5 separate regions of the Homo sapiens genome follow, and all the other regions are linked to region 1. The links are contacts of gene promoters, found by promoter capture Hi-C in blood cells and fetal thymus (Javierre and others, 2016). All regions are on one chromosome and are shown on one strand. The core of a region is centred on a gene start or on the middle of the fragment in contact, and the rest is flanking DNA. Distances in the headings are between cores, read along the strand shown. Region 1 holds the start of SLC35D1 (solute carrier family 35 member D1). Region 2 has its middle 21 kb from the start of LINC01702. Region 3 overlaps SERBP1 (SERPINE1 mRNA binding protein 1). Region 4 overlaps DYNLT5 (dynein light chain Tctex-type family member 5). Region 5 has its middle 12 kb from the start of INSL5.

Region 1 (2,753 bases), core at 130-2,629:
ACCTTTCGAGGTACATTTCTGTCAAGGTCAGGAAACTTGACTACTCTGAGCGCCTTTCCCACCCAGAGAACTGCCACTGTGGCCACCATCTGTAAACAAGAGAACACAGATTCACTGTTCTACACATAAAGACACACACAGAAGTTCTAACAACATAAACCACGTAATGGTGAGGATTCCAACTAACCTGGCCAAGTCCAACACATAGTGAGGAGGGAAATCTACAAAAAGGGCAAAGAAAAAAACAAGATCAGAACAAACCTAACTTAGCTCCGTGAATTCAATTTGCACATCGGCAACGTTAATAAGGCATTCCGATACAAGCCACATCAACGTCCGCCCCTAAATCAAACAAAAATCTTGGGAGAAAACTCTCTGCCTGTTGGTTGTCAGTCCACCCCGCTGATGTAGCCTCGGGCGGCCGCTTGTCCCATCTTGTCCGAGTCTACAGTTTCAGTCCGCTGCCTGCAAAGGATTTCTCAAGGCAGTGCAGATACAGATCTCTGCAACGATTTCACACACCTTAAAAAAAAAAACAACCAACTTCTGCCTCTGGGTCCCAGTGTTAGCAAGGGAATAATTGTCTGCTGGGTTGAGGATGCGTACGTCCCCAGAGGCTGTCAGCGGGTGCAGGGGACACTGAAGCCCCGGCCCCCTGTCCAGGCTGCGGAGGAGGGAGGCTTCCCTCGCTCTCCTCCCTGATCGACAGGCATAACGGCTCAAAAGTCACCAAGCAAATCACTTTGCTCCATCTCTCTGAAGGGCAGGGTTTTCGGGGCGGTGCGCCCAGGGCATGGCAGGCGAGCCCCAAATGTGCCGGGCCGGCCGGAGCTCCGCGCAGGGAGCGGACCCCTGCCACAGGCCCGCTCGCCAGGCCGGCTCCGCTGCCCGGGCCGCGCGCGTCAGCCGCCCGCCCTCCCCAGCTCCCGCCCAACTTTGTTCGGCTTTAACTTTGGCAGTCAAAGTCCAGGGAGCCGGCGCCGCGCCGCCGCCGCCGCCCGCTCCTCCTCCGCGGCCTGGGCCGCCGCCGCCTCGGCCCTACCTGTAATTGGTGAGCACGCTCTTATTCACCACCACGATCAGGAAGGAGCTCACGCCGTAAAAGCCGGCGGCCAGCAGCTTCAGAAACACGGTCAGCGTTTCGGCCGACGCCATCCCCAGCTCCTCCTCATCTCGGAGTGTGGAGGATTTCGCGGGGGCTTCTCCTTTAACCCGAGCATGCTGACGTCTATGAACTTCCGCCATGGCTGCCGCAGCAGCGGTGGCCTGGCGGCGGGGCCTAGCGGCTCGGGGGCCTGCAGCGGCAGCTCCCAGGGGACTCCAGGAGTTGGGGACCGCAGACTAGGCCAGCTGCGCGCTCGCCGCCTCGACTCCCCGCTTGGCCGCCGCCTGTCCCCGCCCAGGGGCAGGGACGCCGGGGTTCACACCCCTGGAGACTTTGCTCGGGCATTGTGCAACGCGGGGTCAGAGAGTAGGGCCGCGCCGGGCTTAGCCTGGGCAGGGGTTGGAGAGAGCCTGGAGAAGGGGCAGTGGCGACCCCCCTGCCCGAGGCGGATAAGGAGAAGCCAGGGGAACTACATCGAGACACCAGAGCGCCGGGCGACAAACCACAGACTCCGGGTGACAGTCGCCCTGCGCCTGCGCACGAGCACGCGCTGGGTCTCTCCGCGGGGCGCGTACCTGGGGCGTGGGGAGTCTGGTGGCAGAGGGGCTGGAAGGCCGTATTCTCCGGATAACTGCCGCAACTAAGTGCAGACCCTCCTCCCCTCTGTTACAGGTGGCCGGCCAAGTAGTTACAGTACACTGCGTCTAGACTAATTCTGAATGCTCTTTTAGTCTCTCTTGCAGGGGGTAAAAACCCTTCAAAAGTATCAGATGTGGATCAACAGTAAACACTCAACGAAAATTTCATTCCGCAATGCCTCAGGCTTCTTACATTTTCTGAACCCAGAAAACACCAAACAATACTTTTCAGATTGAGAAGTTTCGTTTGTTTGTTTTAAGAAAAATGTTGACATATCCCAAAAAGTAGCAAGATAAGCAGCTTGGGGATTGGGGAAAGCACAAGGTGTTTGGAGCCTAAAAGACTTGATTTCCAATTGTAGGATTCCTAGAAATGACGACCCCCCCCCCCCCCACCAACACACTCACTCCTTATTGTGTGTCTTGGACCAATTAGATGACCTCCCTGAACCTGATCTCTGTGGATGTGTAGCTAGCAAAGAGCTAGTTTTCGGTAAATGGTAGTCATTATTGTATAACAGAAGCAAATCATTATGATCGGTTTAAGCAAAGAAATTACGTATTGAACTTTAATAGATTAGGAAAGAAGAACTTTGAATTATTTTTCTAAGTGCTTGGTCTGTATCTTTTTAAATTTCTTTTTTTTTTTTTTCTTATTTTTATATTTTGGTAAACCAGGTATAGTGGTTCACACCTGTAATACCAGCACTTTGGGAGCAGGTGGAATGCCTGAGCCCGGGAGTTTGAGACCATGCTGGGCAACAAAGTGAGACCCTCTCTCTACAAGAAAATAAAAAAATTAGCCAGATGTGGTGGCGCACGCCTGTGGTCCCAGCTACTCAGGAGGCTGAGGTGGGAGGATGGCTTGAGCCCAGGAGGTCAAGGCTGCAATGAGCTATGATCATACTACTGCACTCCAGCCTGGGCAACAGCACAAGACCATCTTAAAGAAAGAAATAAATTGTGGCAAAATATACAAAGTATAAAATTTATCATTTTAACCCTTTTTG
Region 2 (2,753 bases), core at 132-2,631, 450 kb after region 1:
GCTCCGCCTCCCGGGTTCAAGCGATTCTCCTGCCTCAGCCTTCTGAGTAGCTGGGATTACAGGCACGTGCCGCCACGCCAATTTTTGTATTTTTAGTAAAGACGGGGTTTCACCATATTGGTCAGGCTGATCTCGAACTCCTGACCTCGTGATCCACCTGCCTTGGCCTCCGAAAGTGCTCGGATTACAGGCGTGAGCCACCGCCCCTGGCTTAGGTCTTTTCTATTAAGACACACATTAAAGGGATTTGTAAAAAATGCATTTTTGGGGGGTTTTGGAAATTTTTTTTTTTGCAAAAATACTATTTATGCTAATATTTAATTATTTATTGTTGCTATTTTTAAATGGGTATATGTTTTAAACATTTCTCATTATTAATTTCTAATATGGTAAATATCTATATAACCCATATAAACAATAGCTCTTTGGGATCCTCAATAATAAGAGTATAAAAGAGTCACGAGACCAAAAAGTGTGATACCTACTGTTGGACATAAGTGCATTCACCTGCTGGATGGCGTAAGGGCTGAAGGCTTTTCCCCATGCCCCGCGAAAAGCAATCAGCCAGCCATCCTCACTCGCCCTGGAGGCCACGTAGCCGTGGCGCGTCCCAGGCTCGAGCTCCCTGGCCTGTGCTCAGAGCGCCCTCTACAGGCCAAGAGTGGATCCCACACCATTCTTGCTTGAATCTACTGCTCTGGCTGAACTTTTAGCCCAGGGGGAGTTTGAAGTTCGCGGCTGCCTGGCGCCTTGGAACAGGCGATAGGCAGCATCTACAAGCTTCATTTTCACAGGTGGGGGCTGCGGAATGGGGAAGCATCGTGCTGCAGTGACGAAACCACTAAACTGACCTGAATCTTGGTCCTGGCTCAGTCCACAACTAGGGTGGGGTCCCCTGACCTCCCTGGGTTTCAATTACTCAGGAGGAAACAACCCACAATGAACTAGCCACAAAGATCCTTCTGGCTCTAGCAGCCTATGATTCTAGGTGCTAATTGTCCCCACGTCTTACCTAGAGAAGGGGCTTAGTTCCCTGGCTACTGCCTTTCAGAGCTATCTTTGCTTTCGAGGTTTGGCTCAATAAGAATCTGACTTCAGGATGGGTCTTTGCAGTTATGGAGCTCATGGATTTTGTTCTTTAGCAAGTGCATTTTAAAACACCTTCTCAACACTTCATCGATTTATAAAGCAAATCATAAGAAGCTGGCATTGGCTCAAGCTCTGGGCCAATATATGCATTTTCTTATTTGAGCCACACCACAACCCTATTACCATTATTCCCACTTTACAGAGAGAAAAACAGAGGTCCAAGGAACTTAAGTAACTTGCCAAGATCCCAGAGCAACTGTATAGCAGAACGGGAATTCAAAACCAAGCAGTCTGGTTCCACACCCACAACACTATACCTAGCCCGGATAATAAGAGTTTGCATTTTTTAAGGTTTGCTGTGTCCCTGGAGATTTACATACATTATCTCATTCAATACAGCAATTCTACAAAGTAGGTATTATTATCTCAGGTGTTTTTTTTGTTTGTTTTTAGACGAAGCCTAGCTCTGTCGCCCAGGTTGGAGTGCAGTGGCTCGAGCTTGGCTCACTGCAACCTCTGCCTCCCGGGTTCAAACGATTTTTCTATCTCAGCCTCCTGAGTAGCTGGGACTACAGGTGCCGGTCACCACGCCCGGCTAATTTTTTGTATTTTTAGTACAGACAGGGTTTCACCATGTTGACCAGGCTGGTCTCGAACTCCTGACCTCGTGATCCAACTGCCTCAGCCTGCTAAAGTGCTGGGATTACAGGCGTGAGCCACCATGCCCAGCCTATTATCTCAGTTTTACAAGGAGGACACTTATTCTCACCCAGCTACTGAGTAGAATACTGATTTGAGATTTGACCTCTGGGACTGCAAAGCCTGTGCTGTTCATTATTATTCAGCACCATCTCTGTGCCAGGAAAAGATGAAGAACACCAACTGGGTCTTCAAGAAGCTTATATTATAATCTCCTTATGAGATAATAATGGTGACTGACATTTACTGAGAACTGTTCTAAGCCTTTACACATATGAACTCATTGAATCCTCACAATAACCCAATGAGATACAGATAATTACTATCCCAGTTTGCAAATGAAGAAATCATGGTACAAGGCAGGTGGGGTGCTAAGTAAATCACCTGAAATCCTACATTTGGTAAATGTTAGAGTTGGGATTCAAACCCAGGAAGCCTGGCTCTAATACTTGAGTTTTTAACCACTACATTATGCAAAGAGCAAATAGTTCCTGCAGAGACACAGAGGTCATTGACCAACTGAAAGAAGCTGTCTTCAACAGCTGAAAGAAGCAAGCCTGGTCTGCAGAAAGATCTCAATGTGGGAAGGAAGGTGTCGACCCCTCAGCCCCATTCCTTTTCAGTCCTGGTGTTCCAGCTGCCTATGAGACTGCTACATTTGAAAATTATTCCTTCTCAGCTGGGCATGGTGGCTCATGCCTATAATCCCAGTTCTTTAGGAGGCTGAGGTGGGTGGGTGGGTGGATTGCTTGTGCCAAGGAATTCAGGCTGGGCAACATGGCAAAACCCTGTCTGTACAAAAAATACAAAAAATTAGCCAAGTGTGGTGGCACGCACCTGTAGTCCCAGCTACTCAGAGTCTGAGGTGGAAGGATCACTTGAGCCCAGGAGGTCAAGGCTGCAGTGAGCCATGGTTGTGCCACTGCATGCTAGCCTGGACAGCAGAGCAAGATGCTCTCTCAAAA
Region 3 (2,753 bases), core at 162-2,661, 370 kb after region 1:
CTCTGCCTCCTGTGTTAAAGTGATTCTCCTGCCTCAGCCTCCTGAGTAGCTGGGATTACAGGCATGCACCACCACACCAGGCTAATTTTGTATCTTTAGTAGAGACGGGGTTTCTCCATGTTGGTCAGACTGGTCTTGAACTCCCGACCTCAGGTGATCCGCCCGCCTCAGTCTCCCAAAAGTGCTGGGATTACAGGTGTGAGCCACTGCGCCTGGCTGAAACCACGTGTTCTAATGCAGTTTTTTTTCTACAGGACTTAAAAAAGACAATGTCCTCATTTACTACTCATATGAAGTAAATGTTAAAAATCATCTCTAAACCTAAAAAAACTTTTAATCTTTTTAACCTCCATTTTATTTTAAAATGTTTCCAAGTTTGTCTTATAGCCATTTTGCAGTTTAAAAAATTATGCTTATTGGCTGGGCATGGTGGCACACGCCTATAATCCCAGCACTTTGGGAGGCTGAGGCAGGCGGGGATCACTGAGGCCAGGAGTTTGAGACCAGCCTGGCCAACATGATGAAACCTCATCTCTACTAAAAACACAAACATTATCCGGGCATGGTGGCGAGTGTCCGTAATCCCAGCTACTGAGGAGGTTGAGACACAAGAACTGTTTGAATCCGGGAGGTGGAGGTTGCGGTAAGCAGAGATGGTGCCACTGCATTCCAGCCTGGGCGACAGAGCCAGATTCTGTCTCAAAAAAAAAAAATAAAAATAACTAATACCTTATTGAAAGGGTTTGCCCTCACAATATTTTAATTTAACTTTACCTTAGGATGATAAAACTCAGTCTGGATTTCTGGCACAGCCCAATTTATGATATGAATAAATCAAACACAAATGTCAAAAGGTTAAAGGAAGCTGATAGAGAAAATGAATTTAGGAGAAGAAATAATATAGTTAGGGCTTGTATGAGTTTTTAAAGCCAAACAGGAAGCCGCACTGAAACATTCCTCTAAGAACACACCCCAAAGCTTAAACGGAAGCTACCAAATCAAAAGCCATCAATGTGACTTTCTCCAATACAGTTGACCCTTGAACAACGTGGCTTTGAACATTCTGCCTCTGTCAGTCTTGAGACAAGCAAGCCCAATCCCTTTTCTTCCTATCCAAAATAAAGACCTTTGTGATGATCCAGTTCCACTTAATGAACAGTAAATATATTTTCTCAACATTTTCTTTAGCTTACTTTACTGTAAAAACACAGTATATAATACGCAACATACAAAATGTGTTAACTGGTTATGTTATCACTAAGACTTTCAGTCAACAGGTTATTAGTAGTTAAGTTTTGGGAGAGTCAAAGGTTACATGTGCATTGATCTGCGGGGTCAGTGCCCCTAGCATCCTCATGTTGTTCAACAAGTCAACTGTATTTTCACTAGTTTCCATGTTTCTTAAGTAAAACCCACATATACTTTGGTTTTTAAAGTCGTCATTCCTTAGACAAAATGCACATTGCCATTTACTGAGTGTCCTGGCCATTATATATGGTATAGGCAGACAGTTTCAAAAGTTGAATTCTAAATGAAGTCACTTACATTTTAGGTTAAACCATATGAAAATGTCAAGATTTCAACCTAACACCATAATACCACAGCCCTTTAATGATCCCCAGTTTGGCAAGATTTCAAAAATACAACCACAACTTTGAAAAGAACTATCATATTTCTGAACACCAATAACTACAAGATACTCCACTAACAGCTTTTTAGGAAAAAGTAACTCTACCACATAAAACATAATTACAAATTGATCAAAGGACTAAATTTCTTAGAATATGTGATAATACAGTTTATTTTCCTTATAAAGCAAATTATCTGCCCCAAATGATCCTATGTAAAGCTTTAACAGACAAATAACCCATGTGAAATTTTAAAACAAAAATTATAAATACAATTCAAGTCACATCTGAACATTTTCAAACACGACAAAACTTAATTTTACCTCTTCACTCTTTGATTTATGAAGAACAAATCCCTTCTTCCACTGCCCATCAGCACCTTCATTTGGTTTTCGGATATTAAATTCTACTTTTGCCCGGTCCTTATTTTGAATAGCCTTCCACTCATCCAAAGTCATCTCTTTTGGACCCTCCTCTTTTACCTCTTCAACTTCATTCTCCCTGTGAAAAGGTTTTCAAGTTTTATACCTGGTAGAGAGCTGATATTACATAAAAGTATTTTAAATTTATGATTTTAATTGAGAAAATTAACCTTGTAATCTTTTAGAGAAAGATTATTCAAGGATGAGGGTACCCTAGTTTCCTATGTAACTAAGCAACTTGGTAGAGACCAGGAATTCAGTGTTTGCTAATTAGAGACAAGTAAGGAATATGGAATTCATACTTATGAACTCTTAAATGATCATTTATCAGTAATACAATCTAGAACTGGCTTTACGAATACTAAAATACACATTTCTTAAAAACACTACCTTGTTTAAAAACTACCCTCTTATGTAAAATCCTCAGCCTATCTTCTCCTAAACCACATTTTTAATTTCCATAATTCCCACAATATGTAACTCTTAATAACATACAAGAAGGTAATCCTCTAGGATGTCTGTCAGCAACCAGGGTTCAAATTTTGGAATATAAAAGAACTGTTCCTCTATGCTTTGTTTCAGCAACTAGCACTTAGAGCAAATCAAAACAATAGCCGTGTTTCTACAAATCCTAAAATCCTTATACTCCAATTTTCAAACCAACCTGTATATGGAAAGGAGGCCATGGATTCACTACTAATAG
Region 4 (2,753 bases), core at 115-2,614, 280 kb before region 1:
CTGACTTAACAAATTCACTGAGTATTTCTGGGTACATAGATATGACTTAAATGAAAGAGATAAGTATTGATATTTTATCCAACAAAACCAATCAGTGTTGTTAGGTGAAGGAAAAAAAAAAACTCAAAGCAAAGGCAAATGACTCATAGTCCCCTGTTGACAGAGACGTTTATCCATTACCACTGAGGTTTTGAGTCTTTGAAAACAAAGATCTTTGCACCTGCCGCTATACTCCCAGGTGGAGTCCGTGGCAAATATCTTTTCCCATCCATGTTTCCTCATAGACCCACTTGTTTTCTCTAAAAGCGTACCTGCCCACTATTACCTGAATTCATACATAATTACTGCTATATGGAAATTCCACAGAGATTTACCAAGGGGCAAAGAAAGACTCTATGGGCCAAGGTGATTCCATCTGTGGCCAGTTAACCCCAAGAAAATTATAGACCATCAGCCTGTCCCCTCTGGCCTTGTAGCCAGTTTTCTACAGGAGTCCCCAAGACTACATGGATTACACGGCTCCATAATTAGCCAATCTACTGGTATTTTCACAGTGCCTGTGGTGGACAGCTAATATTCCTGCCATCCAATATACTTTTATACTTCTCTGGTAACCTCACTAAATTTCCTTTGAAATTCCACCAACATCACCACTTTTGATCCTAGCATTCTAATGAAGCTGGCACTGGCTTTATAGATAGAGCAGTGACTGATTCTAGGATGGCATATAACCATGGTGAATCCAATCAAAGACTTTGAGATTAAATTCAGAAAATGTTGTTTGGCCTGTTGCAGAAGAACATAAAGCCCTGAAACTTGAAGGAATGTAGGGGCTCTGGCAGGATCTGCCACCTTGCCCTGACTTGAAACTGAGAGAAAACAACAGAATCCTGGTGTCATCATTTGAGTCCTAAATCCAATTGGCTACCCTTTAACTTTTCAGTTAGGCAAGCTAAGTTTGGGTCAGGTTTTCCCTCACTTGCAACTAAAAGTTCTTAGCCATGGGGTGTCTATGACTTTGAACTGTGCATGCTGGAAGGGTTTGAATCAGATTTGAACAAGACAGGGCCAGTGAAATGTGAATCTCTGTGTTTCTACATAAGGATATTTTTTGCAACTTGTTTTCTCAAATAAAGCATCTTATCAGTTTTAGAAGTACTGAGTATGAACCACATTAGAAAAGTAATTTTAGAAAAAGCTTAGTATAGATGAAATATACCTGTATTTTCCTACAATAGTCTATGTGAATTTTTTAATAATTAAAATATTTTATGCTTGACAATTCCCTTTTTATAGCATTCAACCAGCCATTTTATTAATACTTAATCAAAACTGTGTTTCCACTTCTACTTGTTTCTGGGTTTATTTCACATATGAAAGGTATTTTGTGAGTGTATTAGTCCGTTTTTGCATTGCTATAAAGAAATACCTGAGACTGTAATTTATAAAGAAAACAGGTTTATTTGGCTCATGGTTCTAGAGACTATACAGGAAACGTGGTGCCAACATCTGCTTCTGGTAAGACCTCAGTAAGCTTTTAGGCATGGCAGAAGGGAAGGAGAGTTGGCATGTCACATGGCAAGAGAGGGAACAAGAGAGGTGCCAGGCTGTTTTAAACACCCAGCTCTCATGTGAACTAATAGAGGAAGAACTATAGAGCAAGAACTCAGTAATTACCGCTGGGACAGCACCAAGCCATTCATGAGGGATCCACCTTCCTGGCCCCAACACCTCCCACCAGGCCCCACCTCCAACACTGGGGATCACATTTCAATATGAGATTTGAAGGGGACAAATATCCAAACTATATCAGTGGGACTTTGGTAAATAGTTTATCATATCTTTACAATGTAATACTGGCCAGAAAAGTAGAGGGAAATATCAGCCAATCACCAGCACTATTATGTTTAATTAATTTTTCATTCCATTCAATAATGTTTGCCTCATCTAAACACATCTTAAATGAGAGCATTTACATAAATAATTACAGCTACAAAAAATGAGATGAAACATGAGTATCATTCATGAGAGGAGAAAAGGGAATAGAAAAGGAAAGTGTGTTTCTTTTAATAAAATACCATTTATATATTTCTCATTAATTACTAAAACAAATATAAAAGAAAATGCAGGCTGTGGCATCTGTCGTATCTGAATTTGAATACTAATTTTGCTAATTCCTTGAGCAAGGTATTTAGCATCATTGAATCTCAGTGTCTTCACTTGTAAATAGGGATAATAGTCTATACATCACATGGATGCTATGAGACTCAAATGATGTTATATGTTTAAATCTCTCCATTCATCATGTTACTACTCCTGAAAGTGACTGACTCAAGGACCTTACTATAGATCACTAAGAATAAAAGCCTTCCATGATATTCATTGTAACTTCATATTAATTATGGAATAAGTTTTCCACAGGACTTTTTCTGGAACTGAGTATAGTGGCACCTGGTTGTTTGCAAACATGGACTGCGAGCACCGAGCCAAACTAGATTGGCGGCCATCTTTGCTACCACATCAAGACAGCCTGCCTTGAGAATGAAGCCAGCACAGTAGAAAGTAGATCCAAAATATTGAGAGAGAAAGAGAGAGATTATTTGAGTTCAGCTTCCATGAAGTGCTCAGGCCCTGTCTCTATGTCAGGTTTTCTTAGAGCCTGTCAATCTCTCAGCATTGATTTTACACCACCACATGGGGTCCTTCCTAATCCCACAGGCCTCACTGTCTCCAGACTTACGTCCTCTTTCATC
Region 5 (2,753 bases), core at 132-2,631, 260 kb before region 1:
TGGCCCACTGTAGATGCTTACTCTCAACCTCTAATTTTTTCCTGCAGAAACTCTTTTCTAAAAAATTGAACAGATATTTTTGCAATTTCTGCTCACTACCCTAATGTAATACCCTAGATTACATTTTTTCTTTTATCACCTTTAATCATCTGCTGCTGCCTTCTTTGAATGACAATTTCTTCTCAAGTCCACATTTATTATACAGTCCTGTACATCTCCAAATTTAGCTTCTCGTGGCTGATGTCTACCTGTTTTTAAATGTTTCATTCGGATGTCTTAACTCTCACTTCAGTAATTTCTTGATTCCTTTGAACATTTCTGTTTACTGCCGCCTATTTTATCCTGTTAATTCTCATTTGAATTTATATATTCCTCTAGTATGTTCACACAGAATAAACATACTAAAGGTTTATTTAGACATATATATTATCTGTTTAAAGTCTCCTGTAATCTCTTCTTAATTTCTTTCCTTGCCAATTTGAGTACACTTTTGTTTTTTAATTTTAGTGCAGGATATAACTTGAGACTTGTGGTTTTCCACCCACCCACCAGGGTATTTCCCCACCTAGCAAGGCAAGGAACCAGTATAACCAGTACGGGAAGCACTAAGCTTCACTTTACATTTGTGATCAGAAAAGTTGCCCACGGATGATGATGAGGGTGAATCATCTAACTATTAAAAGGACAGAATATCCAGCCCGATTTGTTTAGGGGTTTCTGGGAAATAGTTTTTTAAATTCCTATGAAAAATATCAAGTTTAAAGACTCATAATTTCATGTTGAAACTAAAGGAAAATAAACTGTATGTTGTTGGTTAATTATATAATTATATTTATTTTTTTCCTTTAAGGAAATGTGTTATATAACAAGAACTTTGGTAGGACAGGTGTAATAATTTTTTTAAAATATATAGTTAAATTGCTTGCTTGCATCCCAATTCACAAGCACAAGTAAAAGCCATTTAAGGGCCCAATCATTTAAAGAAGAAATAGTATCAATCTTAAACACTCGGAGATTAAAGAAAGAAGGACCACTTTCCAACTCATTTTATGGAGCTAGCTTAACCCTGATAGCAAAATCACTGAAGTATATTACAGAAAAAACATAAATGTTACTTAAAAATTTATTAACATGGTATTATAAAAAACATCAATGTTGTTTATGAAAATATATGCTAAGCAAAATGCTAACAAATAAAGTGCAGTGGTATATAAAAAAGAGAATACATTATTAATTATTGGAAATATTTTTACAATTCATTTGTGTACAAATAAGTAAAACTTCACTTAAAAGTCATGCACTTTATTGTATGTGTATTATACTCCAGTGAATTTTTTTAAGTCACGAGGCTAAAGATTCTATTACAGCTTTTTTCTTCCAGATTTTTAAAGAACAAATAATGCCTTCATTCTGTAAGGCTAGAATAATCTTTATTGACAAAACATATAGATCAGTTTTATTTATGAACACAGATACAAAAATTCTAAATAAAATATTAAATGCAATGCTTCTGAGTATTAGAGAATGCTATACTGTGATCAAATGGATTTATTCTGAGAATATAGAGACATTTCAACATAAGAAAGATTCTCAACAGAACTCTTCACATTTACTAAAGAGAAAAATACCATATGATAAAATTAAATGTGTATTTTATGAAATTTAGAAGAATTTCCAACAAAATGAGTCCTTCAGCAATATGTAATAGGATAATGCTTTTAAGATAATTACAAATATTATATATACATGTATAATATAGATTAATTCATTATTTATTGTTTTATTTATTCATATTTCAACCAACAAATGTCATACTGAGTAGTGAATGCTAAAGCCATTTCCATTACAATTACGAACATGGGAGAGATGTTTACTGTCGTTATTATCATTTAGATCAGGGGTGTCCAATCTTTCAGCTTCCCTGGGCCACACTGGAAGAAGAGGAATTGTCTTGGGCCACACATAAAATACACTAACACTAACGATAGCTGACGAGCTAAAACACACACACAGACACACACACACACACACACACACACACAAAACAACAACCAAAAAAAACTCATAATGTTTTAAGAAAGTTTACTAATTTGTGTTGGACAGTATTCAAAACCATCCTGGACCTCATACAGCCCACAGGCCACAGATTGGACAAGCTTGATTTACATTTTTTTAATGATCACTTCCCTGTGAGGCCTTCCCTGGCCACCCTGCTTAAAACTCAATTCCCTTTATCCCCCCACCCAAGCTTTCCCATCCCCCTTCCATGGTTTATTTTCTTCTCAGCATCAATAATAATCTAATATTACTCCTGTTTACATGTGCCATCCATTATAATATGCACTTTTTCTGTTCTACTCACAGCTTTATTCTTACTACCCAGAACCATGCCTCGCGCATTACTCTCTCAATAAATAATTATTGAATAATGAGTAAGGTAGTAAGTCAAGAATATGAAACAATCAGCTTAAATCCTATAAAAGAAGAGACAGAAGTATCTTTTCATTGTAGATGATAATATTGCATACCTCAAAAATCCAAAATGAATTAGTCAAGCAGCTATTAAACTTAATAAAATTACTTGGCAAGGTGCTTGGAGATAAGATAATGTTTTAAAAATCAAGATTTTTCTTTGCACTGCAACAAGTAATTAGAAATGAACATGGAAGAAATTTCTCATTCACAGTGGCAAAAAATTCTGGTGTAAGTTTAAATTAAAAGGTATAATACCTATATAAACAAAATTATTTAAA

What was found. The method cuts DNA at HindIII sites, captures the fragments that hold promoters and counts their contacts. A CHiCAGO score of 5 or more calls a contact.
Region 2: a contact is called between a fragment that was not itself captured here and the fragment with the promoter of SLC35D1 in region 1, in 3 of 17 cell types (non-activated CD4 T cells, total CD4 T cells and total CD8 T cells). The highest score is 5.4, in non-activated CD4 T cells.
Region 3: a contact is called between a fragment that was not itself captured here and the fragment with the promoter of SLC35D1 in region 1, in 1 of 17 cell types (total CD8 T cells). The highest score is 6.8, in total CD8 T cells.
Region 4: a contact is called between a fragment that was not itself captured here and the fragment with the promoter of SLC35D1 in region 1, in 1 of 17 cell types (fetal thymus). The highest score is 6.7, in fetal thymus.
Region 5: a contact is called between a fragment that was not itself captured here and the fragment with the promoter of SLC35D1 in region 1, in 1 of 17 cell types (total CD4 T cells). The highest score is 5.4, in total CD4 T cells.

What each region holds. Positions count from the first base shown.
Region 1 is chr1:67,052,769-67,055,521 of GRCh38, forward strand. SLC35D1 (solute carrier family 35 member D1) reads right to left here and starts at 1,380. Exons shown (of 12, transcript NM_015139.3): 1 at 1,043-1,380; 2 at 188-221; 3 at 3-89. The coding sequence starts at 1,245. RefSeq lists silencers at 795-1,004, 1,295-1,484. The HindIII fragment of the contact is 15,835 bases long and covers 1-2,753 here.
Region 2 is chr1:67,499,981-67,502,733 of GRCh38, forward strand. No RefSeq gene overlaps it. Among named protein-coding and RNA genes, the nearest start is that of LINC01702, 21 kb to the right of the region's middle. RefSeq lists an enhancer at 306-809. The HindIII fragment of the contact is 1,207 bases long and covers 779-1,985 here.
Region 3 is chr1:67,418,058-67,420,810 of GRCh38, forward strand. SERBP1 (SERPINE1 mRNA binding protein 1) reads right to left here. Exons shown (of 8, transcript NM_001018069.2): 6 at 1,952-2,129. Among named protein-coding and RNA genes, the nearest start is that of SERBP1, 11 kb to the right of the region's middle. The HindIII fragment of the contact is 871 bases long and covers 977-1,847 here.
Region 4 is chr1:66,770,736-66,773,488 of GRCh38, forward strand. The region is part of intron 3 of DYNLT5 (dynein light chain Tctex-type family member 5); the gene reads left to right. Among named protein-coding and RNA genes, the nearest start is that of DYNLT5, 20 kb to the left of the region's middle. The HindIII fragment of the contact is 336 bases long and covers 1,197-1,532 here.
Region 5 is chr1:66,788,170-66,790,922 of GRCh38, forward strand. No RefSeq gene overlaps it. Among named protein-coding and RNA genes, the nearest start is that of INSL5, 12 kb to the right of the region's middle. The HindIII fragment of the contact is 1,546 bases long and covers 609-2,154 here.